7 separate regions of the Homo sapiens genome follow, and all the other regions are linked to region 1. The links are contacts of gene promoters, found by promoter capture Hi-C in blood cells and fetal thymus (Javierre and others, 2016). All regions are on one chromosome and are shown on one strand. The core of a region is centred on a gene start or on the middle of the fragment in contact, and the rest is flanking DNA. Distances in the headings are between cores, read along the strand shown.

What was found. The method cuts DNA at HindIII sites, captures the fragments that hold promoters and counts their contacts. A CHiCAGO score of 5 or more calls a contact.
Region 2: a contact is called between a fragment that was not itself captured here and the fragment with the promoter of C8orf88 in region 1, in 1 of 17 cell types (total B cells). The highest score is 5.6, in total B cells.
Region 3: a contact is called between a fragment that was not itself captured here and the fragment with the promoter of C8orf88 in region 1, in 1 of 17 cell types (total B cells). The highest score is 6.0, in total B cells.
Region 4: a contact is called between a fragment that was not itself captured here and the fragment with the promoter of C8orf88 in region 1, in 2 of 17 cell types (fetal thymus and total B cells). The highest score is 6.3, in fetal thymus.
Region 5: a contact is called between a fragment that was not itself captured here and the fragment with the promoter of C8orf88 in region 1, in 1 of 17 cell types (total B cells). The highest score is 6.2, in total B cells.
Region 6: a fragment that was not itself captured here is called in contact with the fragment with the promoter of C8orf88 in region 1 in 5 of 17 cell types (naive B cells, total CD8 T cells, naive CD4 T cells and 2 more); the score reaches 8.3 in naive B cells.
Region 7: a fragment that was not itself captured here is called in contact with the fragment with the promoter of C8orf88 in region 1 in 8 of 17 cell types (total B cells, total CD4 T cells, naive CD4 T cells and 5 more); the score reaches 12.6 in total B cells.

What each region holds. Positions count from the first base shown.
Region 1 is chr8:90,983,090-90,986,786 of GRCh38, forward strand. C8orf88 (chromosome 8 open reading frame 88) reads right to left here and starts at 2,149. Exons shown (of 6, transcript NM_001190972.2): 1 at 2,025-2,149. RefSeq lists a silencer at 2,173-2,332. The HindIII fragment of the contact is 2,363 bases long and covers 1,426-3,697 here.
Region 2 is chr8:89,713,527-89,717,223 of GRCh38, forward strand. No RefSeq gene overlaps it. Among named protein-coding and RNA genes, the nearest start is that of PARAIL, 42 kb to the right of the region's middle. The HindIII fragment of the contact is 6,818 bases long and covers 1-3,697 here.
Region 3 is chr8:89,731,493-89,735,189 of GRCh38, forward strand. The region is part of intron 1 of PARAIL (palmitic acid regulated anti-inflammatory lncRNA); the gene reads right to left. Among named protein-coding and RNA genes, the nearest start is that of PARAIL, 24 kb to the right of the region's middle. The HindIII fragment of the contact is 9,223 bases long and covers 1-3,697 here.
Region 4 is chr8:89,763,401-89,767,097 of GRCh38, forward strand. It overlaps RIPK2 (receptor interacting serine/threonine kinase 2), which reads left to right. Exons shown (of 11, transcript NM_003821.6): 3 at 1,941-2,096. Among named protein-coding and RNA genes, the nearest start is that of RIPK2, 7.4 kb to the left of the region's middle. The HindIII fragment of the contact is 7,997 bases long and covers 1-3,697 here.
Region 5 is chr8:89,821,282-89,824,978 of GRCh38, forward strand. It overlaps the pseudogene COX6B1P6. Among named protein-coding and RNA genes, the nearest start is that of RIPK2, 65 kb to the left of the region's middle. The HindIII fragment of the contact is 385 bases long and covers 1,753-2,137 here.
Region 6 is chr8:89,840,288-89,843,984 of GRCh38, forward strand. No RefSeq gene overlaps it. Among named protein-coding and RNA genes, the nearest start is that of OSGIN2, 60 kb to the right of the region's middle. The HindIII fragment of the contact is 2,424 bases long and covers 644-3,067 here.
Region 7 is chr8:89,861,814-89,865,510 of GRCh38, forward strand. No RefSeq gene overlaps it. Among named protein-coding and RNA genes, the nearest start is that of OSGIN2, 39 kb to the right of the region's middle. The HindIII fragment of the contact is 756 bases long and covers 1,566-2,321 here.

The DNA.
Region 1 (3,697 bases), core at 899-3,398:
CTGGTGCTACCTAGAGTAGCCATGTATCATATCAACGATTCAAAGCACAGTTACAAAATAAACAGAATTCTGCCTACAACATTGGGTAGCAAGTAGTGGGCCTATCATAAGGTTGTAAAATGTAAATTTAAAAATGTAAATGTATAGTTTTGTGGTATAAATGTTTTTTAAAGGATATTTTGATCCAATGTCTCCAAAAAAACTTTCTATTAATACATACTGAGAAATGGTTGCTGAATAGTTTTTTTCAAGATCACACACACTTAACAAATCATCTTTAAAGACCAAGTTGTATGAATAGAATATTGGTAAATCAGTTAGTTATTTACAGTTGCTATTCTACACCTGGCAATACTAACTATATCTTAGGTTCCTTTTCTTTTTAAAAAATTTACCTAAGTATGAATCTTCAGGCCTTATCAGTCCTGATATTACCAGTAAACCTAGAATTGTCTAAAATACAATGGGATAATAAGCAGATACATTGACCACTTTGGCCAAAATCTTATTAATCTTATTTTTTAATTAAGATGCCTTTTTAAGGTCCTACTACATACTAAATATAATTTCATTTAATTTTGAGCCATATATGAACGGTGGAAGAAAATTATTATTAGTCCCACTTCACAGATAAGAAACCTGAGGCTCAGAAAAATAAGAGACATGCCCAAGTCCACATAGCTACTAAGTGCTAGATATTAGGATTTGACTACAAAGTTCACACCTTTATATCAAAACTTGCCTATTTGTTACATAAAAGAAAGATATCTGACTGTCCATTTATTACATGTGGACACTGCGTGTATAGATTTAAAAATTAATGTGAAAAGTAACATTTATTTATAAGGCCATGCAGAATAAATTGGTATATGCTAATAATATCCATTTCTTCAATTTACCATTTTTCTTAGAATACTAAATAAATTAGGGAGTACTGTGCTTTCCTCACGCTACAGACATGGTATACTGCCATACTAACCATAGATCACAGCATATGAAATATACTATGCACTGTTTTTAGAAGCTGAGTACTATACTTAAACTCCAATATAAATTCTAGTCTTCTTTGGAAAGTACTGATGCTACCGCTGCCGTTGAGAAATAAGATCATATAAAGTGAAATAATGAAATGAAAAGACCATATTTGAATTTACCTTGTGTATAATTCCCATATGATAACCAGATAAAATTTCATCTCAATTTCCAACTTCAAAACATTACAAAGTTAGGATTCCTTGAAACCCAATACTGCTTGTAAGTAAACTGCTCACACTGACAAAATGATAGATGAAGAGAAACATACAGGAAACATCGGGGAGTAAGAAATAAACCACCTATGACTCAAGTGGTGAAAGACATTTCACGTTCCATATATCTGGTTGCACTATTAAGGAAAAATTAAAACGAAAATATCAAAAAACTAGAAGCTTGGAGAGTTCCAACATATCTTCCATTTCATGCCTTCTCTTTATAACTAATTTAATTTTTTTTTTGGTCTATTTGAGGGATTTCTCAAAACAAAACACAATTTAACATTCGGATGGGCTAAAGCTGTCCAGGTAATAGGTGTCTGTGATTACTTTAGTCATGTAACTGTCCTTTCCGTAGCTTTGACTAAAACACCAGCAATGAAAACCTTGTGCCACCGGGTGGAGGGGGCAAATCGTCTTGAAAGCCTCCCACCGCCTGGCACCAGGTGCTGGGGCAGAGCCAAGGGGAGCTGTGTACTTAGCTCCTTTTTTGGCGATGGCTTTGGTCTCGGCCACTTGCCCCTCCGTCGGGCTCCCCTGGCCCCCTACACTTTCTTTCCCCTCATCCGACGCTCTCGCTCCCATCCCACTCCCATTCAGGGTCCACAGGGTACTGAAGGGGCCCTGAGAGATTTCCCGACCCACCTCAGAGCTTCTCTTCCTCGCCTCAACTTTCCCGGGGTCGGGCCTGGGAGACGGCGCCCACCCGCCTCCTCCACACCACGGGGCCCGACTTCCGTCCCCCAGTGTCGCTCATCCTCCCTAGCCACTTACCGACTCAAAATCCACGGGGATTTCGGGGCAGCAGCGTCGCCGCGCTCAGCCCACACGCGGAGGCCGAGCGCCCTGCTGCCCGTCGGGGAACGGCTCCTGCCGCTGGTCCGCTGGCTGACCGCGGTGGCGGCGGCGGGGGGCGAGGGGCGGGGGGCGAGGGGCGGGGGGCGGGGCGGGAGGCGGCTCCGAGGGGCACGAGGCGGGCCCAGGGCGGGCGCGGGGCGTGGCCTCGGGCGCTGAGCCTCGAGAGCAGCCGCACCCCTGCCGGGGTAGAACCGTTAAAAGGGTGGCGCGCGCTTTCCCGGGCGAGCTGGGCGCGTGGGGTTGGAGCGGCGCCACCCAGAGCCGGTCGTCTAGGGTAGGAGGCCGCGAGTGAGGCGCTGACAGGCTAGCCCTCGACGGGGCGCGCCCGCGTGAACGGCCTTGGGGGCCCCAGACCGTGGCCCTGCTTGTGCGAAGACTGGGAGGCGCCAGGCGGGCCGCCTGCTGGGGGCTTGGCGGCGGGTTCCAGGCAGCGTCTGTGAGGGAGGCCGCCTCTGTGAGGGAGGCCGCCGTCGTGCTGACGACTGAGTCCACCCTACTCCTGTCCCCCGTCAGAGCTGCTGGCAGGCGCTGCTTTCCCCTTGGTGCATTTAGTGGGTGTCGGGATTCGGGTTGGCAGGGAGGAAGATGTTTGAGACCTGGTTTACCTCAGACCAGGGATACAGCGTTTCACACAGACTGCCATCCTGAAAGGAACAAAATGAATTAAGGCAACTCCATCCGAATCATTTCTTTTTAATCTTCACCTTCAATCCTTTTGCTAATTTTTCATTATCTTTGAGTGTCCCCAGAGGGGGACTGTCTGCTTGTACTGAGGGACGTGGAGGTGGCAGTCCCTCACGTCCCCAAGCACCAAAAGGACAGTTGAAAATGCACTGGCAAACACTGAACGGTTTTAAGTGGGGCACTATCAGGATTTACCATTTTGGAAGGTATGAAGTTTCACAAGCACTTCCATGTATAGTCAAGTTATTGGAGCTGTCTCCGTTTAGAAATGGCTTCCAGAAACACTCCTACTATCCACTGAGACAACTCGCCTGGCATCAGAGACCTAGGGTCCAGGGTCAGAGATGGGTCATGATAAAAGGGCATCCCTTGGGGTGAGGCACCAGAAGTCTGCACAGTGGAATCAATATATTCCAACCACCAGATGTAGAAAATCTTAAGTGCAGGATGTGGTTCTCATCCATCTAGTCACAACAGAAGTTTTCTTCTTCAGGAATATACTTAACAATGAAGCATGTATAATTTTATATACATCTTACAATAAAATTATTTTGTGCATATCACTGTATGAAGTCAGTAGAAACTATTGTGACAAAAATGTAAATTGGAAGAATTCCAATTCAGATCAGTATTAGTAATTTATTGAGAGGAAGAGAGAAATTAGACTAGACAGACTCCTTGATTTTTTGATAATTGAGGAAGAAAAATGAACCATATAAACATATCGAAACTTTTCAAAATCTTATTGATAATGACATAAAATTTTGGCATCTACAAGGATAATCTAGAATTCATACCTTTACAACAAGAACTTGACAACAAACAGGTTAATGACTTTTAGCAACTTAAAGGTTAGTCACTGCCTGAGAAAACTTGAAGTGCCCTGAAATCACAGAGTTCACCTA
Region 2 (3,697 bases), core at 601-3,100, 1.3 Mb before region 1:
ACAGACACTTCTCAAAAGAAGATATTTATGCAGCCAACAGACACATGAAAAAATGGTCATCATCACTGGCCATCAGAGAAATGCAAATCAAAACCACAATGAGATACCATCTCACACCAGTTAGAATAGCAATCATTAAAATGTCAGGAAACAACAGGTGCTGGAGAGGATGTGGAGAAATAGGAACACTTTTACACTGTTGGTGGGACTGTAAGCTAGTTCAACCATTGTGGAAGTCAGTGTGGCAATTCCTCAGGGATCTAGAACTAGAAATACCATTTGACCCAGCCATCCCATTACTGGGTATATACCCAAAGGATTATAAATCATGCTGCTATAAAGACACAGGCACAGGTAAGTTTATTGCGGCACTATTCACAATAGCAAAGACTTGGAACCAACCCAAATGTCCATCGATGATAGACTGGATTAAGAAAATGTGGCACATATACACCATGGAATACTATGCAGCCATAAAAAATGATGAGTTCATATCCTTTGTAGGGACATGGATGAAGCTGGAAACCATCATTCTCAGCAAACTATCACAAGCACAAAAAAACCAAACACTGCATGTTCTCACTCACAGGTGGGAATTGAACAATGAGAACACATGGACACAGGAAGGGGAACATCACACACCAGAGCCTGTTGTGGGGTGGGGTGGGGAGGAAGGATAGCATGAGGAGATATACCTAATGTTAAATGACGAGTTACTGGGTGCAGCACAACAACATGGCACATCTATACATATGTAACTAACCTGCACATTGTGCGCAAGTACCCTAAAACTGAAAGTATAATAATAATAAATAAATAAAAGATGTCGAAAGGGGTTGCAGTTATCTAAACACTTTACTGGTGCTGCAAAATTTGCTTCCAAGATGGCTCACTCACGTAACTGGGAAGTTGATGCTGGGTCTTGGCTGGAGACTTCAGTTTCTCTCCATGTAAACTCTCTGTAGATGTGAGCATCCTCAGGACATGGCAGTTGGGTTTTCCTCAGAGGAGCAATGCAAAAAGGAGCAAGTTGGAAGCTCCAATATCTTTTTGACCTAGGCTTAAAATCCATACATTGTCAGTTCTCCATATTCTATTCTTTACAGAGTTTGGCCCTATGCCATGCAGGATGAGACTATATTAGAGTTGAACAGTAGAATGCAGAGACTGTTGGGGAGCATCTTAGAAGCTGCTTAACACAACTATGGTAAGTTACAGTGTCCTTATCATATACCTTACTTCTATATATGTTATAAAGCCAACAGTACATTATTTCTATTTTGCTTTAAGCAGTCAATTATCTGTTAAAGAGACTTAAAAACTAAGAAAATTAAGTATTTTTCATGTATCCATATATTTATGATTTCTGGCATTTTTTATTCCTATGTGAATACACAAGTTTCCATCTGGCATCATTTTCCTTCTGCCTGAATAACTTCCCTTAATATTTCTTATATTTAGTTTGCTGACAATGAATTTTACCTCTTTTGTTTGTCTGGAGAATTGTTTATTCACCTTTATTTTTAAAAAATCAAAAACCTGGACATAGAATTCTAGATTGACAGGTTTTTTTTCTTTCAACACTTGGAGGACTGTCATCCAGTTTGTGTAGTTTCTGATGAGAAGTTTCTGTTGAGACAGTGCCTTTTTTTTTTCCTCTGGCTGCTATTATGATTTTTCTCTTTATCAAAACTGGTTTTCTAAAATTCAATTACAATGTGTATTGGTGTGATTTTCTTAGGATGCTTTTCCGTCTTAGGATTCTTTGAGTTTCTAGGATCTATGAGTTTATACTTTTCATGACAGTTGGACAAACATTTGGCCATTATGTCTTCTCTTTTTACACTCCTCCACCTTGCTTCAGTGGTTCCAATTATATTAGATCTCCTGACTTTGTTCCTGAGGTCACTGATGCTCTGTTCATTTTTCTATTAGTCATTTTTCTCCCTGAGCTTCATTTTTGATAGATTCTATTGCTCCTTCAATTTCACTCATCTTTTCTTCTGCAGTATCTAATCAGCTGTTGATCCCGTTCAATCTATTCATTTCAGAGATGAAATGAAGAATCTATTGTATTTTTCATCTCTATAACTTTGATTTGTCTTCTTCTATTATCTATATCTCTCTTCATCATGCTCATGCTTCCCTATACCTTACTCATGATGTGAAGCATATTTACAATAGACAATTTTAGTCATTACATCACCTCTGTCATTTCTGGTGCTGTTTCTATTTATTGACATTTTTCTTCTGATTATGGGTTAGGTTTCTTATTCTTTCTACTGTCTGGTAAATGTTTTATTGCTTTGCGACATTGAAACCTCACTTAATAGGGTGGTAGATTTTGTTGTAACCCTTCTAGTAGTCTTAGGCTTTGTTCTAGCACGCAGTTATGTTACTTAGTAGCAGTCTACCTCTTTTGAGGCTTGTTAGGGAAATCCAGAGTATATTTTAGTCCAGGGCTAATTTAGCCTCACTACTAACTTCACTACTGAGGTATTCTTCTGAGGATTCTATTCAATGCCCCTATATAATACAGTGTAATAAGGTCTTTCCACTCTAACTGATGGGAACACAAACTCTTCCCAGCCTTAAGTGAGCTTCAGGAATTATTTGGCTTATTGCCTCCCAGCAGTTCTTACCCCTGCCAGGGGTATCTTTCTCTCTCACATGCACATACCAAGGCTCAAGGGACCCCTTTGTGATCTCTGGGTATATTCTCTCTTATCTCTCTCTCTCTCTCTTCACCAACCCCCCCCCCCCACCCAAAATCTCTATCCACTTTAGTCTCCATGAACTCTAATTTCTAATCCCTCCACTAAGGTAGACTGCCAGGATCTGTTCGAGGTTTCCCTCTGATATGGTTTGGCTCTGTGTCCCCACCTAAATCTTATCTCAAATTGTAATCCCCCATGTGTCAAGAAAGGGACTTGGTGGGAGGTGACTGGATCATGTGGGCAGTTTTCCCTATGCTGTTCTTGTGATAGTGAGGGAGTTCTCATGAGATCTGACGGTTTAAAAGCGGCAGTTTCCCCTGCACTTTTGCTCTCTCTGTCTCTCTCTCTCTCTCTCTGTCTCTCTCTCTCTCCTGCCACCTCTTAAAGACATGCCTTGCTTCCCCTTCACCTTCCACCATGATTGTAAGTTTCCTGAGGCCTCCCCAGCCATGAGGAACTGTGAGTCAATTAAACCTCTTTCCTTTTTAAATTACCCAGTTTCAGGTCATTCTTTATAGCAGCGTGAAAACAGACTAATAAACCCTCCATCTATTAAAGCTCGAAAACTGCCTCTAGGTGGCAAGCCAAGCTGAGGTAATAATAAGGTTCAATTTGTTTATTATGCCTGAAAACATTGTTTTGTCCAATTTTCTATTTGTTTGAGGTACACAGTAAATGTAGTCTCTGTCATCCCATTATAGCCAGAGCAGAAATGATCTCCAGAAATCTTTTTTAAATGTCAAATTACTTGCTGGATACCTCTTTTTACAAATATAGGAAGATACCTCTACTTCCAAATATAAGACGCATATGAAACTTAACATATATAAAGTTTAACTCTGCTCTCCTCTGCATGCCCTGAATCAAGTAAACCTGCCCCTTCTTTCATGTTCCCCGTGTCAGTAAATGGCAACTCAATCATTCCCATTGTTTGGACCAAAATTTCAAAATTTCTCTTTCACACTTAATAGCTAAACCAT
Region 3 (3,697 bases), core at 717-3,216, 1.3 Mb before region 1:
CCCAGCTACTCGGGAGGCTGAGACAGGAGAATTGCTTGAATCCGGGAGACGGAGCGAGATCACACCATTGCATTCCAGCCTGGGCTACAGAGCAGGACTCTGTCCCAAAAAAAAAAAAAAAAAAAAAAAAAAGATAGGTTACATATTATCAGTGTACAAGAAGGAGACTAGAGAAGGAAAGAAACCGAAAACATATTCAAAGAAATCGTAGCAGAAAAATTCCCAAGACTGGAGAAGAAAAGAGAAAGCCAGATCCAGGAAGCACAAAATACACCAAATAAGATGAATCAAAAGAGACCCACACCAAGCTATATCGTAATCAAATTGTTGAAAGCTAAAAGCAAATGCAGTGTTAAAAGCAGCAAGGGAAAAGTGAACATCATTTATAAGGGAACCACCATGCAACTATCAATGGATTTCTCAGCAGAAACCTTGCAGGCCAGAAGAGTATAGAATGATAGATGCAAAATCCAGAAAGAAAAAACACTGCCAGTCAAGTATATTATACCAAGCAATCCTATTTTTCAAAATGAAGAGGTGATAAATACTTTCTCAGACAAAAAAAGATGAGAGAGTTTATCACCACTAGACTTGTGTTAAAATGTCAAGGGAGTTCTTCAAGCTGAAGAGGACACTAGTTAGTAATACGAAAACATATGAAAGTATAAAACCCGGTAATAAAAACAACTACACTGTCAAAACCAAAACACTGCCACTGTTATGGCAGTGGGTAAATCCATTATATCTCTAGTATAAAGGTTAAAAGACAAAGCTATTAAAAACAACTAAAGCTGCAGTAATTTGTTGAGGAATACAAATTATAAAAAGATGAAAGTGAGACATCAAAAACATAAAATGTGAGAGGAAGGGGAGTAAAAGTTTAAAGTTTTATATGTGATCAAAATTTAGTTGTTTCCAAGATAAATACCACATTATAAGATGATTTATGTAAGCCTCAGGATAATCACAAAGCAAAAGCCTATATTTGATATACAAAAGATAAAAAGAAAAGATCCAAAGCATACTACAGCAGAAAGCCATCAGGCCACAAAGGAAGAAAGCAACAGAGAAAAGCAGAAACAAAGGATTTACAAAACAACCAGAAAATGATTAACAAAATGGCACTAGTAAGTCTTCACCTACCGATAATTACTTTGAATGTAAATGGACTAAATTTTTCAATCAAAATGCACAGAGCAAATGTCTGCACTAAAAAAATAAGACCCAACTGTATGCCGTCTACAATTCACATCATCTTAAAGGATACTCATAGAATGAAAATGAAGAGAGGGAAAAATATATTTCATTCAAATAGAAAACAAAAGACAGCAGGGGTAGGTATACTTATTTCAGAAAAAAATAGACTTTAAGTCAAAACTGTAAAAAGAGACAAGGTCATTATACTGTGGTAAAGGGTTTAATTCATTAAAAGGAGCAAACAATTGTAAATATATATATGTAAATATATACATAAATGTGTGTGTGTGTGTGCACCCAATAGCAGAGCATCTAAATATATAAGGCAGGCCGGGCATGGTGGCTCATGACTATAATCCCAGCACTTTTGGAGGCCAAGGCAGGAGGATTACTTGAGCCCAGGAGTTCAAGACCAGGATGGGCAACATAGGGAGAGCCCAACTCTACAAAAAATTTAAAAATTAGCCAGGTATGGTAGTGTACACCTGTGGTCCCAGCTGTTTGCTTGGGCCTGGGAGGTCAGGGCTGCAGTGAGCTGTGATTGTGCCACTGCATTCCAGTCTGGGCAACAGGGCAAAATCCTGCCAAAAAATAAAAAAAGATGGAGAAATAAAGCAAACATTAAGAGATCTGAAAGGAAACACACTGCAACACAATAATAGGATATTTCAATACCCCACTTACAACAAAAGACAGATCACCCAGAAATAAAATCAATAAGGAAACACTGGATTTGAACTATACTTTAGACCAAATGGGCATAATAGACATGTACTTGACATGCCACCCAACAGCAATGGAATACACATTCTTCTCAAGTGGATGCAGAATATTCTCCCAGATATATCATGTGTTAAGCCACAAAGAAAACTTAACAAATTTAAAAGTATCAAAATCATATCAAGTATTTTTTCCAACCAAAATGGCATAAAACTAGAAGTAAATAACAGGAGAAATCAGGAAAATTGCCAGCTGTATGGAAAGTAAACAATATGCTCCTGAACAACTATTTGGTCAAAGAAATTAAAAGGGAAATTTTAAAATGGAAACACTAAGTCAAAAATGGAAACACAACATGCCAAAATTTATGGTGGTAGCAAAAGCAGTTCTAAGAGCGAATTTCATAGCAGTAAATCCCTACCTCAAAAAAATGGAAAACTGCAAATAAACAAACTAATATTCCACCCCAAGAACTAGTAAAAGAATAACAAACTAAGCCCAAAGTTAGAAGAAGAAAAAAATAAGAAAGATCAGGGCAAAAGTAAATAAAATCGAGACTAGAAAAGTTATACAAAAGATGAATGAAACTAAGAGGTTTTTTTCTGAAAAGGTAAACAAAATTGACAAACCATTAGCTAGACTAAGAAAAAAAGGGAGAAGACTCAACCAAAACTCATTTCAAAAATGAAAGAGGAGACATTGCAACTTATTACACAAAAACAGAAAGCATCATAAGAGACTAATATAAACAATCATATACAAACAAATTCGACAACATACAAAAAATTAATAAATTCCTTGAAACAAATAGCCTACTGTATTAGTCCGTTTTCACGCTGCTGATAAAAGACATACCCGAGACTGGGCAATTTACAAAAGAAAGAGAAGTTTAATGGACTTACAGTTCCACGTGGCTGAGGAGGCCTCACAATCATGGCAGAAGGCAAGGAGCAAGTCCCGTCTTACATGGATGGCAGCAGGCAAAGAGAGAGAGAGCTTGTGCAGGGGAACTCCCCTTTTAAAAACCATTAGATCTCATGAGACTTATTCACTATCATGAGAACAGTGCAGAAAAGACCTGCCCCCATAATTCAATCTCCTCCCACCAGGTTCCTCCCACAACATATGCGAATTGTGGGAGTTACAATTCAAGATGAGATTTGGGTGGGGACACAACCAAACCATATCACCTAGCAAGACAGAATCATAAAGAAATCAGAAATCTGAACAGACCAATAATGAGCAAAGAGATTGAATTAGTAGTCAAAAATGTCCCATCAAGGAAAAGCCCAGACCCAAATGGCTTCATGGTTGAATGCTACCAAACATTTAAAGAACTAATATCAATCCTTCTCAAACTCTAACAAAAAATTGAAGAAAAGAGAATACTTCCAAACTCATTTTACAAGGCCAGCATTACCCTGATACCAAAGCCAAAGTCACTATCAGAAAAGTACAGGCCAACATCACTGATGAACATAGATGCAAAAATTATCACCAAAATACTATCAAACTCTATTCAACTGTACATTAAAGGATCATTCACCATGATCAAATGGGACTTATCTCTGGGATGTGAAGATGATCAACATTCACAAATCAATAAATGTGATTCACTATATTGGCAGAATGAAGGACAAAAAACATATGATCATCTCAATAGGTGCACAAAAGCATTTGACAAAATTAAACCTCCTCTCACAACAAAAACTCTCAACAAATTAGGTATAGAAGGAATGTTCCTCAACACAACAAAGTCCATATATGAGAAGCACACACC
Region 4 (3,697 bases), core at 401-2,900, 1.2 Mb before region 1:
TAAATTATCTCTGAATACCAGATACATTAGCTTTTCTAATAATAGACAGTGGTATCAGCCATTTACCCTTTTTCCCAAGGTACCAGTCACTCTCTCTTTGATTATGAATCCCTTGAGTAAACAAATTCAGGGGTCCTCATTCTCAAAATACATGTATTCATTATTAATATTATCATGAGTCTGTAGTTTCAGTAGATCTTTTTAAACTACTTGGTCCATTTTTTGAGGGTTGGCTTAATTAAAACTGTATTAATCTACAAAATCCAATCAATAGATACTCATAAATGATAGTGTAACACAATGCCCTGTAAGTGGCCAAGGGAAAGTGGGTGCCACTGTCAGTCAGTCATAGAGTAACTTCCTCTCAGTTTCAGAATACATCACATTCTATTCATGACTTGTGACCATTTGAAACAAGGATGGAATAAGTAACTGGTGTCAGTCTGTAAGATTTGTATAACTACCACAGAGCCAAGATACAAATATTAATAAATCACAATTTCTCTTTTATTTTTGTTGAGAAATGAGTATAAGTAGAAATCTAACATTTTCTTCCCACACCCCAGCAGATACTCTGGCACCCAAATTTGCAGCTCGCTGGAAATTCTACAGCCTCCTCAAGGGGGATTGCTAACTCCTGGAAAAAAAATCATAAAATATACAGTGAGCACTTCTCTCCCTTGTCTCCATGATCACAAGCCCCCATATTATATTATGCTGCAGAGAGGCCTGGTAACTGCTTTAAACTGCATAATTTTCAGAAAAAGTTACCTTTTTTACAGATTAAAAGATTAAGTTTCTCTAGGGGACAGGCCTCTGTGTATGCCAGAGAAAGTAATGTTCCACGTCAGCTTTTTGTGTTTCTTTTGGTTTCCTGTATTGCATTATTTAGGGTGGGATTTATCTTGAAGTGCCCTCCCCCAACCTCACAAAATTCATTGAGAAAACTCAAGATGTATCATAAACAGTCTAAAATATTTTGAACCACTCCCCCTGCCAGATTGATCACTGAACTATAAGCTGACGCATTTGCAGAAAAACTTCTCAAGAACAGTTTTGTACTTTCAGTAGAAGCAGTCTTTTTCATAGCATTTAGAAAAATGTGGTATGGTGCCTGGTGATTCATCGTGGATCTTCCCAAATTGCCTGATCTTCCAAAGTATGTTCATTCTCCTGGGAAGCCACATTAACTTTTATGTTCAGAAAACATTTATTTTAAGAAAACTCAGATGGATATTATTTGAGTACTATGAAAAATAAAATGTTATGTTTTAAATGTGTCTGTTCTATACAGTTTTAGAAACAAAAATGAGTGTCCCTTCCACAAAAACAAAACAAAAGGCTAATTTTATAAGCTGGAATGCAGATAAATTAATTATATGATTAAATGTATGATAAATTAATGCTTAGTCAATAAATACAATATGATCATAATTTGTAACTGATGCAGTGATTATAATGTATGATTTTATAGTAATAGAAAAATTAAAATACAAATTTTGAATGAATGCCTTGGTATTTACTAGAAAAAAACTGTCTGTAATTTTGTGTGTATTTGTGTGTACTCAAATTACCTGATTAAGACATAGAATGAGGAGGTGGATGTGGGTGTAAGTATATGACTCTGGCTATATACAGATACAAAGTAATTGAGATTTGTGTCAGCTGAAGAAAGACCCAAAACCATGTAGTTGCATGACCAATATAAACTAAAAGGAAGTATTGGTGCCATAAAGTTATCATAATTTTCTCTATAAAGTGAGGAAAGTAAGACACAAAAATGTTAAACCCTATCAAATTGGTGCTATTTTATAAAAATGAGCATATGTTTTAACCTTAGTTTATACTGTATTTCCTCATGGAATATTTAACTTTCTAAGTGTGAAACATAGTGAAATTTGGACTAATTTCATTTTCTTTCTTTTCACATATATATGAAGAAAACTGAATATCCTGATGTTGCTTGGCCATTGAGATTTCGCATCCTGCATGAAATTGCCCTTGGTGTAAATTACCTGCACAATATGACTCCTCCTTTACTTCATCATGACTTGAAGACTCAGAATATCTTATTGGACAATGAATTTCATGTTAAGGTAATTACTTTTTTAAAAAGTTTATGTTTCCTTGTCCTTATAGTTTTAAAAATACTTTTTAGTTATTTCTTCGACCTAGCCAATTTCATGTCTCTCCTTAGAGATAGAGACTAATGAATAGTAATTTCCATAGCCCCTAATTTCTATCTTCTATTCTCCTTCTTCCTACTGCAGTTAGGAAGTTATTCCTAGACAGAGATAGAATTATGGTACAAAATACAAAGCCATTATGTTTCTTAATTGAATTGTCAAGATCACCTTTTTTTTTTACTTTTTATTTTAAAATTATTATATATTTATAGGAAGTTGCAAAGGTAATAAAGAGGTTTCATGTATCCTTCACCTGGTTTCCCACATTGTTATATCACACATAATTATAGTATAATTTCAAGACCAGGAATTTGACATTAGTACAATGTGTGTTCATAGTAACCGCAACAATCAAGGTACAGCACTACTCATAACATCACCACAAAGATAACACTCATCCTACCTCACCCACTTCCTCCCTACCACAATCTGTACCCCTAACAACCACTAATCTGCTTTCCATCTCTTTAATTTTGTCATTTTGAAAATGCTATATAAGTGGAATCATATAGTATGTGATATTTTGAGATTGGCTTTGTTCACGTCACATAATGCTCTTGTGATCCGTCTAAGTTGTGCTTGTAACAATAGTTGTTTTTTATTGATAAGTAGTATTCCACAGTATAAATGTACCAAAGTTAACCATTCAGGAACATTTTGGTTCTTTCCATTTTGGGGTAATTATTTACAAAGCTGCTGTGAACAAAGCTGTACAGGTTTATGAGTGAACATAAGTCTTCATTACTCTGTGATAAATGCCCAAGAATGCAAATGCTGGGTCATATGGTAAGGGTGTGTTTAGTTTTTAAAGAAAGTATCCAACTATTTTCCAGAGTGGCTGTACCATTTTACATTCCACCAGCAATGTGTGAGAGATCCAGCTATTCCGCATCATTTTCTAAAGGGATTCTTTGGTTTTCTTACTGTTGAGTTTTGAGAATTCTGTATATGTTACAGTAGTAGTTCTTCATCAGATATGTAGTTTGCAAATATTTCCTCCCAGTTATAGTTTATCTTTTCATCCTTTTAACAGGGACTTTCACAAAGCAAAATGATAATACCAAATGCCCACCAGCATTTGGTATTATCACTGTTTTCTGTTTAGCTGTTCTAATAGATGTGTAGTGATATCTCATCTTGGTATTAATTTGCATTTTCCTAACTGCTAATGATATCGAACACCTTTTTATATGCTAATTTGCCACCCATACGTGGTTTTCAGTGAAATGTCTCTCATGTCTTAAGCTCATTTTCTAAAGGGATTCTTTGGTTTTCTTACTGTTGAGTTTTGAGAGTTCTGTATTTGTTACAGTAGTAGTTCTTCATCAGATATGTAGTTTGCAAATATTTCCTCCCAGTTATAGTTTGTCTTTTCATCCTTTTAACAGGGACTTTCACAAAGCAAAAATTTTAATTTTGATGAAGTCCATATTTTTTCTTCTATGGATCATGCTTTTGCTGTCATCTCTAAGCACTTTTCACCAAGTTCTACTTACTGAAGATTTCCTTTT
Region 5 (3,697 bases), core at 695-3,194, 1.2 Mb before region 1:
GTATACAATCATGTCATCTGCAAACAGGGACAATTTGACTTCCTCTTTTCCTAATTGGATACCCTTTATTTCTTTCTCCTGCCTGACTGCCCTAGCCAGAGCTTCCAACATTATGTTGAATAGGAGTGGTGAGAGAGGGCATCCCTGTCTTGTGCCAGTTTTCAAAGGGAATGCTTCCAGTTTTTGCCCATTCAGTATGATATTGGCTGTGGGTTTGTCATAAAGATCTCTTATTATTTGGAGATACGTCCCATCAATACCTAATTTATTGAGAGTTTTTAGCATGAAGCGTTGTTGAATTTTGTCAAAGGCCTTTTCTGCATCTATTGAGATAATCATGTGGTTTTTGTCTTTGGTTCTGTTTATATGCTGGATTACGTTTATTGATTTTCATATGTCGAACCAGCCTTGCATTCCAGGGTTGAAGCCCACTTGAACATGGTGGATAAGCTTTTTGATGTGCTGCTGGATTTGGTTTGCCAGTATTTTATTGAGGATTTTTGCATTGATGTTCATCAGGGATATTGGTCTAAAATTCTCTTTTTTTGTTGTGTCTCTGTCAGGCTTTGGTATCAGGATGATGTTGGCCTCATAAAATGAGTTAGGGAGGATTCCCTCTTTTTCTATTGATTGGAATCGTTTCAGAAGGAATGGTACCAGCTCCTCCTTGTACCTCTGGTAGAATTCGACTGTGAATCTGTCTGGTCCTGGACTTTTTTTGGTTGGTAGTCTATTAATGATTGCCTCAATTTCGGAGCCTGTTATTGGTCTATTCAGGGATTCAACTTCTTCCTGGTTTAGTCTTGGGAAGGGGGTATGTGTCCAGGAACTTATCCATTTCTTCTAGATTGAAACACTATTTTTTCACCAAACGTGTATTGAACTCTTGGAGGAGAAAAAAATAGAGAAGAAGTATTCTTGCCCTCAAGGAGATCAGATTAGGGATAAAAGAAGAAAACAAAAACAAAAACAACCAAATATAATGTACCTGTCTACTAGGAACAATCAGGCCTTAGGAGCTGGAAAATCTTCACCAAATCCAATATGGAAATTAGAAAGAAAGTGGCATTCTGACCCTCAGTTCTGTAAACTCAAACACAGATTTTGGCACTAGGCTGATAATAAACTTTTTTAATAAAATCAGAATGCAATGCCATTTTTAAGGGCAAGTAATAGAACTGCTGCTGGGCCTCCATAATTTCTTGGGGAATACCTTCTCTTCTAGTAGTCAGATTTGTGCTCAAGCCTAAATTGTAAATAAAGGAACATAGATAGGGGGCGTCTAGTCATCTTCCCAACAGAAATACTGTAAATGGGGCTTTAGACTTGAGTATTTGCCCAAGAAATGCATGAATGGATACTACAAGGATAACTTCTCTGACCTTCTGCCACCAATTTTAATTAGCTCATTCTTTAGGTATGTTAATACTTCCTAGAAAACTAGCTGTTTTTCAAATTATAAACTATTTCATATGTACAGAATATAACAAGGATTTCATGTACCACACACATAAGGTGTTAATATTTTACCATATTTGTTTCCAGAGTTTTTTTTTTTTTTTTTGAGACAGGGTCTCGCTTTGGCACCAAGGCTGGAGTGCCATGGCATGATCATAGCACACTGCAGCCTTGAACTTCTGGCCTCAAGCAATCCCCCTGCCTCAGCCTCCCTAAGTGCTGGGATTACAGATGTGCACCACTATGCCAGCCTCTTTCAGATTTTAAGAAATAAAACACTATAAATAGAAGGAAAGCTTCATCTCCTTATCTTTCTCTCATCATCACCACCTTTTTTCTCCTCAGTTTAAACAACTATCCTAAGGTAAATATGAATCATTTCCAAGTACTTTTTACAAATCTGACTACATATGAATATATCCATACATAATTATGTCATTTCATAAATGGTACTACACTGTTCATATCCATTTGCAACTTGAGGTTTTCTCTCAACTTACTGGATGCGTTGAGGCACATCCATATCTCTATGTCTTGCTGCATTTGCCATAGTGCACACAGCAGAAAAGTGGACGAAGCTGAACTCTACCTCAGGAGGGGAGTAGACTATTTCTTTAAGACAACTGCAAATCTCTCCTCTAATCCTTCATGTCATGACTTTTTCCCCACTCTTCCAGTAAGCTTTTATTATCACTTAAGTCATGATTCAGGGTCCCACGATGAGCTCCATGTACCCAAGTCCCCCTTTATCACCCTGGGAGAAGGACTTAGGACCGAGGAAAAGTGGGGCAGAACTCATTCTCATCTTTCCAGGAATTGTGGCTTCTGCCCCGTGGTCACCCCAGGTTAAGACCCAGAATATGATGCTGGGGGATTTGTACACATTCCCACTACCATTTGCACCCAGAGACATCACTCTCTTCAGACATCATTACCTTTCCACAGTGGTAGAAATCTGGGTAGTTCTGCCAGCAGTTCCTGAACTGGCTCTGGTTGGGGAAGCAGCTGTCAAAAGCGGCAGTTCTGTAGTTCTTGACATGGGTCTCGATATATTCTGCTATGTTGCTAACTCCTAAAGATGCCCCTGAGATACCTCTCAGCTCAGTGTGACCCTCAGCAAAGACTATCATGATTTTTTAATTTACTGGGCAGAGAGAAATCTTATTATCAAACTCTTGAAAGAAATAGCATTTTTGTCAATGGTACTATTCACACAAGTAACACTTGCAAAAGGTCAGGGAAAATGAGTTGTGTACATTAATAGCCAGGAAAAGATTAAAATTGAAAAGATGGCCCTACATGTCTTGGGAAAATTTTCTTCAAACTACTGATGTGTGAAACATTTTTAGAATGTTGTTGTGTTTGAAAAAGCTCATTGAAAATACCTGGAGAAATTTTTGAAAGGCAAAGAGTTAGAAAATGAACTAACGTGATATAAAGTTAAAAAGCTTTTGCTGAGCAAAGGATACAGTCAACAAAGTGAAGAGACAACCCACAGAATAGGAGAAAATATTTGCAAACTACCCCTATGATATCCAAGTTGTAAGACAAACTCCTCTTTACTCTTCCCTCTCCTCTCCCCAAGCAAAAGAAAGAACTCTCTTCTGGGGCTGTGAGCTGTGCTGCCTTGGTATGCGGGGAGGGGTGACACACACACTCCCTTGGCCACCTGGGCTGGTGTCTCACTAGGTCATATGCCTGCCAAATCTACTGACTCTGCGCCCAGCACAGCACCAGGACTTGCCCAGGAATCACAGTTCTTGCGGCTTAGACTACCTTTCAACTTTATTTAGGACCCAGAGCGCTTTAGTCCACAGTGCCGAGGCTTGCCAGAACACAGGTTCTGACTACTGGGATAGGCTACCCGCTCTGGATAGGGCTGGTCTAAATGCTCCCTCCATGGGTGGTGGCTGAGTTCTGTCCCGTGTTGCTTTTCACTGTGACAAGGTAGCACCGAGTTCCAATGCAAAGTCCACAGATGCTGCATTCTCCCACCCCCAAGGGCACAGGCTGTCTTTGTACCATGTGGCCGCTGCTGAGGAATGCTGGAAGAGCATTGTCAGCAATTTAAGGCTGTCTTTCTTATCCTATTCAGTGCCTCTTTGGGTAATGTGAGGTTAAAACCAGGTACTATGATCATGCACCTGCTTGTTTGTCATGAAGGTGCTTTTTGTGTAGATAGTTGTTAAAGTTGGTGTTCCTGCAGGGAAGACTATTGGTGGAGGCTTCTATTCAGCCA
Region 6 (3,697 bases), core at 606-3,105, 1.1 Mb before region 1:
GGCTTCCTAAATTTATTTTAAATGGTTGGTATTATTTTGAATTGTGTTCACTAATACAATGTAACAAAAATGTTTTAAAATACAATGATAAATAAGTTTAAGCAGATTTTAAATGAGTTAGTGAAAGCACCGGAGTATTTCTGCCATTTTCTTTAAGGAAACTATGCTTATTTTGGAATTGTGATAGACATTTCCTCTTTGAGTAAAGACAGGGTCATGCTGTGTCACCCAAGCTGGAGTGCGGCTGCACAATCATAGCTTGCTGTAACCATGAACTCCTGGGCACAAGGGATTCTCCTGCCTCAGCTTCCCAAGTAGCTGGGATTACAGGCATGTGACATCATGCCTGGCTAATTTTTTTGTTTAAGTTTAGTTTTTGTAGAGACAGAATCTTGCTGTATTGTCCAGACTGGTCTCAAACTCCTGGCTTTGAGTGATCCTCCTGCCTCGGCCTCCCAAAGTGCTGGGATTACAGGCATGAGCCACCACACCCGACCATCAACACATTTTTATTACACTAAGCATTTGGTTACATTTCTTTCCAGTTTCAGCTTTTGTTTTGAATAACCTAAAAGTGCTTCTCACAAGGCAAAAATAACATCCCATGTTAAGTTCCATAGAGAATATCACTTTGGATGCTGCAAGCTTTTGCCTTTTTAAAAACATTAGAAGTTGTAATGGATGAAAAGAAGCCAGAAAAGGAGACTGAGAAGAGCCAGAAATGTAAGAGGGAAATCAAGAGCATGTAGTATGGATGAAGCCAGGAAGGAGTTTCAAAGAAGAGAAAGAGTGATTATAGAAGAACCAGGGAGATAGGTGCTTGCTACACATTCCCACCTGATGACTTCACTTCCCCTCCTCTCCTGAACCCTTTCTCTATGCCTGAAAGCACAGTCAGTTCTCCCCTGGCTACCAGTAACCTCCTTCGTTCAGAACGGCCGGGCGGGGTGGCTCACGCCTGTAATCCCAGTGCTTTGGGAGGCCAAGGCGGGTGGATCACGAGGTCAGGAGTTCAAGACCAGCCTGGTCAACATGGTGAAACCCCGTCTCTACTAAAAACTACAAAAATTAGCTGGGCGTGGTGGTGGGCGCCTGTGGTCCCGGCTACTCAGGAGGCTGAGGCAGAAGAACCGCTTGAACCTGGGAGGCGGGGGTTGCAGTGAGCTGCGATTGCGTCACTGCACTCCAGCCTGGGCAACAGGGCGAGACACCATCTCAAAAAAAAAAAAAAAATTGTTATGAACATGGGAGGCTAAGAACACCATTCCTATTGGGGGAAAAAAAAAGAAAATGGGAAGGAAATGTAAGTGTAATAGCATATCTGAAAGAGCTTTGGAATCTATAGGACACTGTGTACATGATGGAAGTCAGAGGAAATGTCTGCTGGTCTAGATTACACAGATGTACCTTTCAGTGGAAAAGAGTTATAACAACATGGGTCAGACGTGACAGTGAATCCACCATCTTAGCAGGAGGAACTATTACATGTGAAACAGTTCACCAGCAAATTCTTCATAATTTGCTATTCATACTGCCTGTATTTCATCACCAATGATTCACTCCTTATTCTCTGACCTTTAGTTTCCCCTTCTGCCTTAATGCCCTTGTGCTGTGAATGTTGTGCAGAGTTCTTTCAAAAGCTCAGATTTTAAATGGACAGGTACAAAAATTTGTAGCAGAGATATAAAATAAAAAACAAATTGAGAGTCATGTCTGGACCTCTATGAATAATGCTAGGATGCCAAATCTTTAAATGAGTTCATGAAGCCAGGAGTTCAAGGTAAGCCTGGGAAACTTAATGAGATCCTCACTTCTATAAAATAATAAAAAATAAAAAAAATTAGTGAGGCATGGTGCCGCGCACCTGAAGTCTCAGCTACTCAGAAGGCTGAGGCAGGAGGATTCCTTGAGTCCAGGAGTTTGAGACTGCAGTGAGCCATGACTGCATCAGTGCACTCCAGCCTGAGTGACACAGCAAGACCCCATCCCTAAAAATAAATAAATAAATGAGTTTAGACTTGAGAAAGCAATTAATGTTGAGAAATAATGAAGACAAGAAGGATTTCTTATCATTAGTGATGGTGGCGCAATGTTTAACAGGTGAAAATAAACACTTGGAACTACACAACTTCTGTCTGATCCTCTTCTTTTCTATCAAGAAAAATAATTTCAATGAAAACTTTCAGCACTTGGAAAAGATAAAACAAGCACATTTAAGAAAGACCCAAAGTTCATTTGATAGATGAGGAATATTAATTCCATTTAGTTATTTTCATTGTTCAAGAGAAATACTTTTCAGAGCACTAAAAGGAGTTGTCCATGTCAGCACACGTCTGTTCTCAGTAATCTTTTAAAAATTTCAGAGAGGGATCTAAGCATGATCTAATGTAAGAACAGAAAAAAAATTCTGTCTTCTAAAATGCACACACTGGACAAGGTTGCTGTGATTCCCAGTGCAGCTTTCTAGTAATTGGTTACCATGGAAAGGAGTAAGTGGCTTCCTGATACAGCTGGCTGACTGGATGCATGCATTTACCTTTCTTCCCAAATCCCATAGAAATGTCAGGAGAGTAAAATTAAGTAAAAATAAATCTCCATAAATTTTAGAAAATTCAGAAGGGGTTATTGGAGTATATTGAAGAATTTCTGGAATATATTGATGCTGAAATATAACAGAGCTAAGCAACCCATGAATCCAGACCCATGAACAAGAACTTTAAAAATAAAAGATTGCCCAGCAGAATTCTGCAAAAGTCTCACAATCAAAATAAACAGGCTGGATGGAAAAAGTAAGCCCTGGGCAGGGGCCAGGCAAAAAGTAAAAGCAGAGCTGGTCCTCATGCCACCTAAGGTCCGCTGCTGATGTGTGCTCCAGGCTGTACATAGTGAGAGCTTCTGTGTAAAAGATTCTCAAGATGGACACTCAGTCCAGAGAGTTAGGGCCTCACCACCAGCTAATGATAGCTGCATATTCTGTAAACAAACCATACTAACATCTTAAAGAAAAGCCCACCTTCTCTCTGCCACACGTAGCTGCTTGAGTCAGAGCTGGTTTAATCCAAACTTAAGCTTCTAGCCATGCAAACAAGAATTCTTTATTTTATTTACTTATTTTTAACTTGTATTTTAGGTTCAGTGGTACACGTGCAGGTTTGTTACACAGGTAAACTCGTGTCATGGGGGTTTGTTGTACAGATTGTTTCATCACCAGGTACTAAGCCAAGTACCCAGTAGTCTCTTTTTCTGATCTTCTCCCTCCTCCCACCCTCCAACCTCAAAGTAGACCCCAGTGTCTGTTGTTCACTTCTTTGTGTTCATGTGTTCTCATCATTTAGCTCCCACTTATAAGTGAGAACATGGGCATTTGGTTTTCTTGTGTTAGTTTGCTAAGGCTAATGGCCTCCAGCTCTATCCATGTTCCCACAAAAGACACGGTCTCATTCTTTTTTATGGCTGCATAGTATTCCACAGTGTATATATACCACATTGTCTTTATCCAGTCTACCACTGATGGGCATTTAGGTTGATTCCGTGTCTTTGTTATTGTGAATCGTGTTGCAATGAACATTTGCATGCATGTCTCTTTATGGTAAAATAATTTATATTCCTTTGGTTACATATCCAGTAATGGGATTGCTGCGACGAGTGGTAGTTCTGGCAATCAAGAATTTTTACACTCTCCAGAAACCAATAATCT
Region 7 (3,697 bases), core at 694-3,193, 1.1 Mb before region 1:
TGGAGCCTGAGGAGGTGATCCTGGGAGAACTGACAAAAGCTGGCAGAAGGCAGGAATTCTTAACAAAGCCAGTTATCCTGGGTCTCTGTCTACAGTGTCTGGTTGAGAGAGGAAGACAAAAAACTTTTCCTTATTCCTTCCTTTCCAAATTCAGATTGGCAGAAGAAAAATGTAACAATTGGTTCTTTGATTTGTGACCCTTTTGAATTTGGATCTGGCTACTCCTTGGTCACTGATCCACACATTCAGGAATGGTTCTTGTTTTCCTTGTTTCTCTTTTGTATTATTTGTTATAAGGAGAAAATTCACAGTAAGATTCTCCTTTTATTTTCTTTTATGTCTTGAGAGCTCAGCTTTGTGACTAGTGAAAATATTATCTCTGGTCTCTGCCAGCCATTGGGGGTGCAAGTTGTTAGGCTTGCATCAGGCAGCTCAGCTAGCCCGCTGGCTAGGAGTCAAAAACACAAACTGTCTCTTACTGTGACTGACAATGCCATCTCTCAGGGGAATTTGTCTTAACTGTCTCTACCTTCCATGCCTTGTTAACAATGGAGGTCTTGGCTTTCTTAGGCTATTTTTGGGAGTAACTTTGGATCTTGAGGTGGACTGCATCTTTTGCACCCTCTTTGGAACATGCTCTTGCATCTAGGATGAAAAGACTTACTGATTTTAAGCCATAAAAAAAGCTTATTGGTTTTTAGTCAAAATTAAAGTAGGTATAATTAGATTATGTAGTAGATTTGCTTTTTCTTAACTAAAAGTATTTTTATGGATAGCTCTCATTCCAGAAACAAACAAAAAACCACCAAAACTGTCCTATTGGTACCTATGGGAAGATATGGTTTAAAGCAAGAAAATAAGTGCTTACATAAATAAAATATTATCTCAGGACAAATAAAAACTAACTTAAATGTTCTTTAAGGTCATGTGATCTGAGATAATCCTTCGGTTAAAAAAACGCTAGTTTAAGGTTAGTGGTTTAATTAAAGCAGGCATACCTTCAGAATTGTCAACATTAAATATAATGCATACAACTTATTCTACCTGGATTTACTAATCAAAAATCTTACATATGTTTAAGATTGTAAAATTATAAATTCAATCTAAGAATAAAATGTACAATAAAAGTAAATTACCTAATGTATGTCAAGCATGACAGTAAAAGAGAAAAAGGAAAGGCTGAATGTTTAACTTTGTAGGTGCTTTATTTCGATAGTGTTTAATACTTGCCTAATATATATAGATAAGGATAAAAATGATCAGCAAAACAATAAGTTAATGATGAGATGCAATGTCTCACGAAGTTTTCATGAACAATCCAAGTATAATTGTTAAAACAAAGTAAATTAATAAATGTTAATGTAAATAGAATAACAGTTTATAAATAAACTTTTCAACACTGATACGTTTTATAAGCTATGTCTATCTAAACGTAGTTTCCAGAATCTTTTTGGTGACTTAAAACCTTAAGTTATATTAACTGAAATGATGGATATTCATGGAATGTCTAGATCATTTCCAAGTAAAATATAATACTCAAACATTAACTGCTGAAAATAAGTTTAAGCTTGTTTATGTTTGACTTATTGTTACAGAGGAACAAAAAATATTTGGGTCTATTAATAAACATGTCCTGTGCCACACTGACAAATTGTGCTATAAGATAGCATATATTTCCAGAAATTAAGAAATAATGTATTCACTGATTTATGAAAGACAATGCTTGCTTCCGAGTTCTCACCAGAAACCGAAGTCATTAGGAGTTAAGAATCTAATTAATGTATATACTCAAAGTTACTAGAAATAATAGGGGAAACAACTTTGTATACAAAGTACACAAGGAAAATAGACATTTTTGGTAAGAAAAGTTATAAGATATGAAAGATGTATTTTTGTTATGGAAAGAGTAATTTTGTTTTAGTTTAGAGCTATTTCAAAGGTTGTTTCAGAAAGAATCAATGAATGAAGGATAAAAACTGAAAGGATACAGAAAGTCAAAAAGAGAACAAAAGAGGAAATCTTATATAATCAAGCTGAGTAAATTGAATGAATTTACTACAAGATTTTTTAGAATAAGCCTTAATATAAGGAGTAAACTGACTCAAAACTAGAATTTGGTCTTCTCTATTAAAAGAACAAAGTTTTCTTGGGGATTAGTCTGACGTTGATAAGAAAACTATAAAACCATTTTACTTTATCTTTTAAATAATTTGCCTAGAAAACAAAGATTTTGTGTTTTACCAAAATAATTTCTTGTGCTTCATGTTGTCTTTTATCAGGTCTCAATAATTTTAAAAAACTGAGCCCTGTTAAAGAAGCTAAGCTTTTCCCTACAACCTTTTTTAAGTTTCCATATTTGCCTTTAAAATCTTTTGTTACTCTGGTATGGTTTCACAGTTAATTGTGATCCTCTTTTATCAAGTGTTTAAACATTTTGACATTTTTGACAACTTTCTGAAATCAAATTTTTCTTTTCTTTTTTCTTTTGAGAAGGAGTCTCGCTCTATCGCCCAGGCTGAAGTGCAGTGGCGCAATCTCAGCTCACTGCAACTTCTGCCTCGGGGTTTAAGGATTCTCCTGCCTCAGCCTCCCAAGTAGCAGAGATTACAGGTGTCCACCACCACACCCAGCTAATTTTTGTATTTTAGTATAGACGGGGTTTCACCATGTTGGCCAGGGTGGTCTCGAACTCCTGACCTGAAGTGATCCACCTGCCTCAGCCTCCCAAAGTGCTGGGATTACAGGCGTGAGCCACTGCACCCAGCCAGAAGTGTTCAAAATGGGACCCTGAAATGTCTGAAAAGCATTTATCCTCTCACCTTATAAAAAGAGAGATCCTAAACTAATTAGACTTATTTGGGATGCTGAACGTACATGGGATGCACTGTTAAATAAGAGATTATATTTAACCCTTCTTTGAGCTATATTTGTTATGTTATTAATATGACTATTTCCAAAATACTCATATTACTAGATCATGAGTTCTTCTGGTTTCCTCTAATATTTGACTACAACTCTCCAAATTAATATTTCCAAATTTCTCCCATCCTTCTGACTTGAAATCTCTAAAAAATTAAAATTGCCCTTTTCCTAAGACCCTGAAAGCTGAAACTGGACAACCTAATATAAACTTCAGAGAAATCATTCTATGAGATCATGTGTGAACAACTTTCATGCCTGCTGCTATATAGATCACTTAGAAAGTTCATCAGCACACCCAATGGCATTACCAGAGATATTCAGACTACAAACCAGGAAATTCATCACAATTGCCACTACTTGTACTCACTCCTCTATCTAAAGATGCTTAAAAGCCCAACATCTAAACATCTTCTCAACTGACTGCCCACTGGACTAAAAAAATGGGTTTACAACTTGCTCCAACTATTATACTTTTTCCTTTTTTTTCCCCCCAAAGAAATGCCTCTTATATAGCACTTGTTTGCTTACATCATCTAGAGGTCTAACTTAGATGGGAGCCCACCTACAACATTGCCTCCTAATATGAGATACAACTGCTTAACCGGACTGAACTATTCTCGTAACTAAGACTGATCCATTAAGATTTGGGACAATATACTTAGAATTGTTATCTTCTGCTTGTTCCAATTAATGTTCTTCTCTCCCTTTGCAGATATTTTGCTACTCATTTGATTTCTCTCTTCACAGCTAGCGACTCAGCTTTTAATATGTGAAA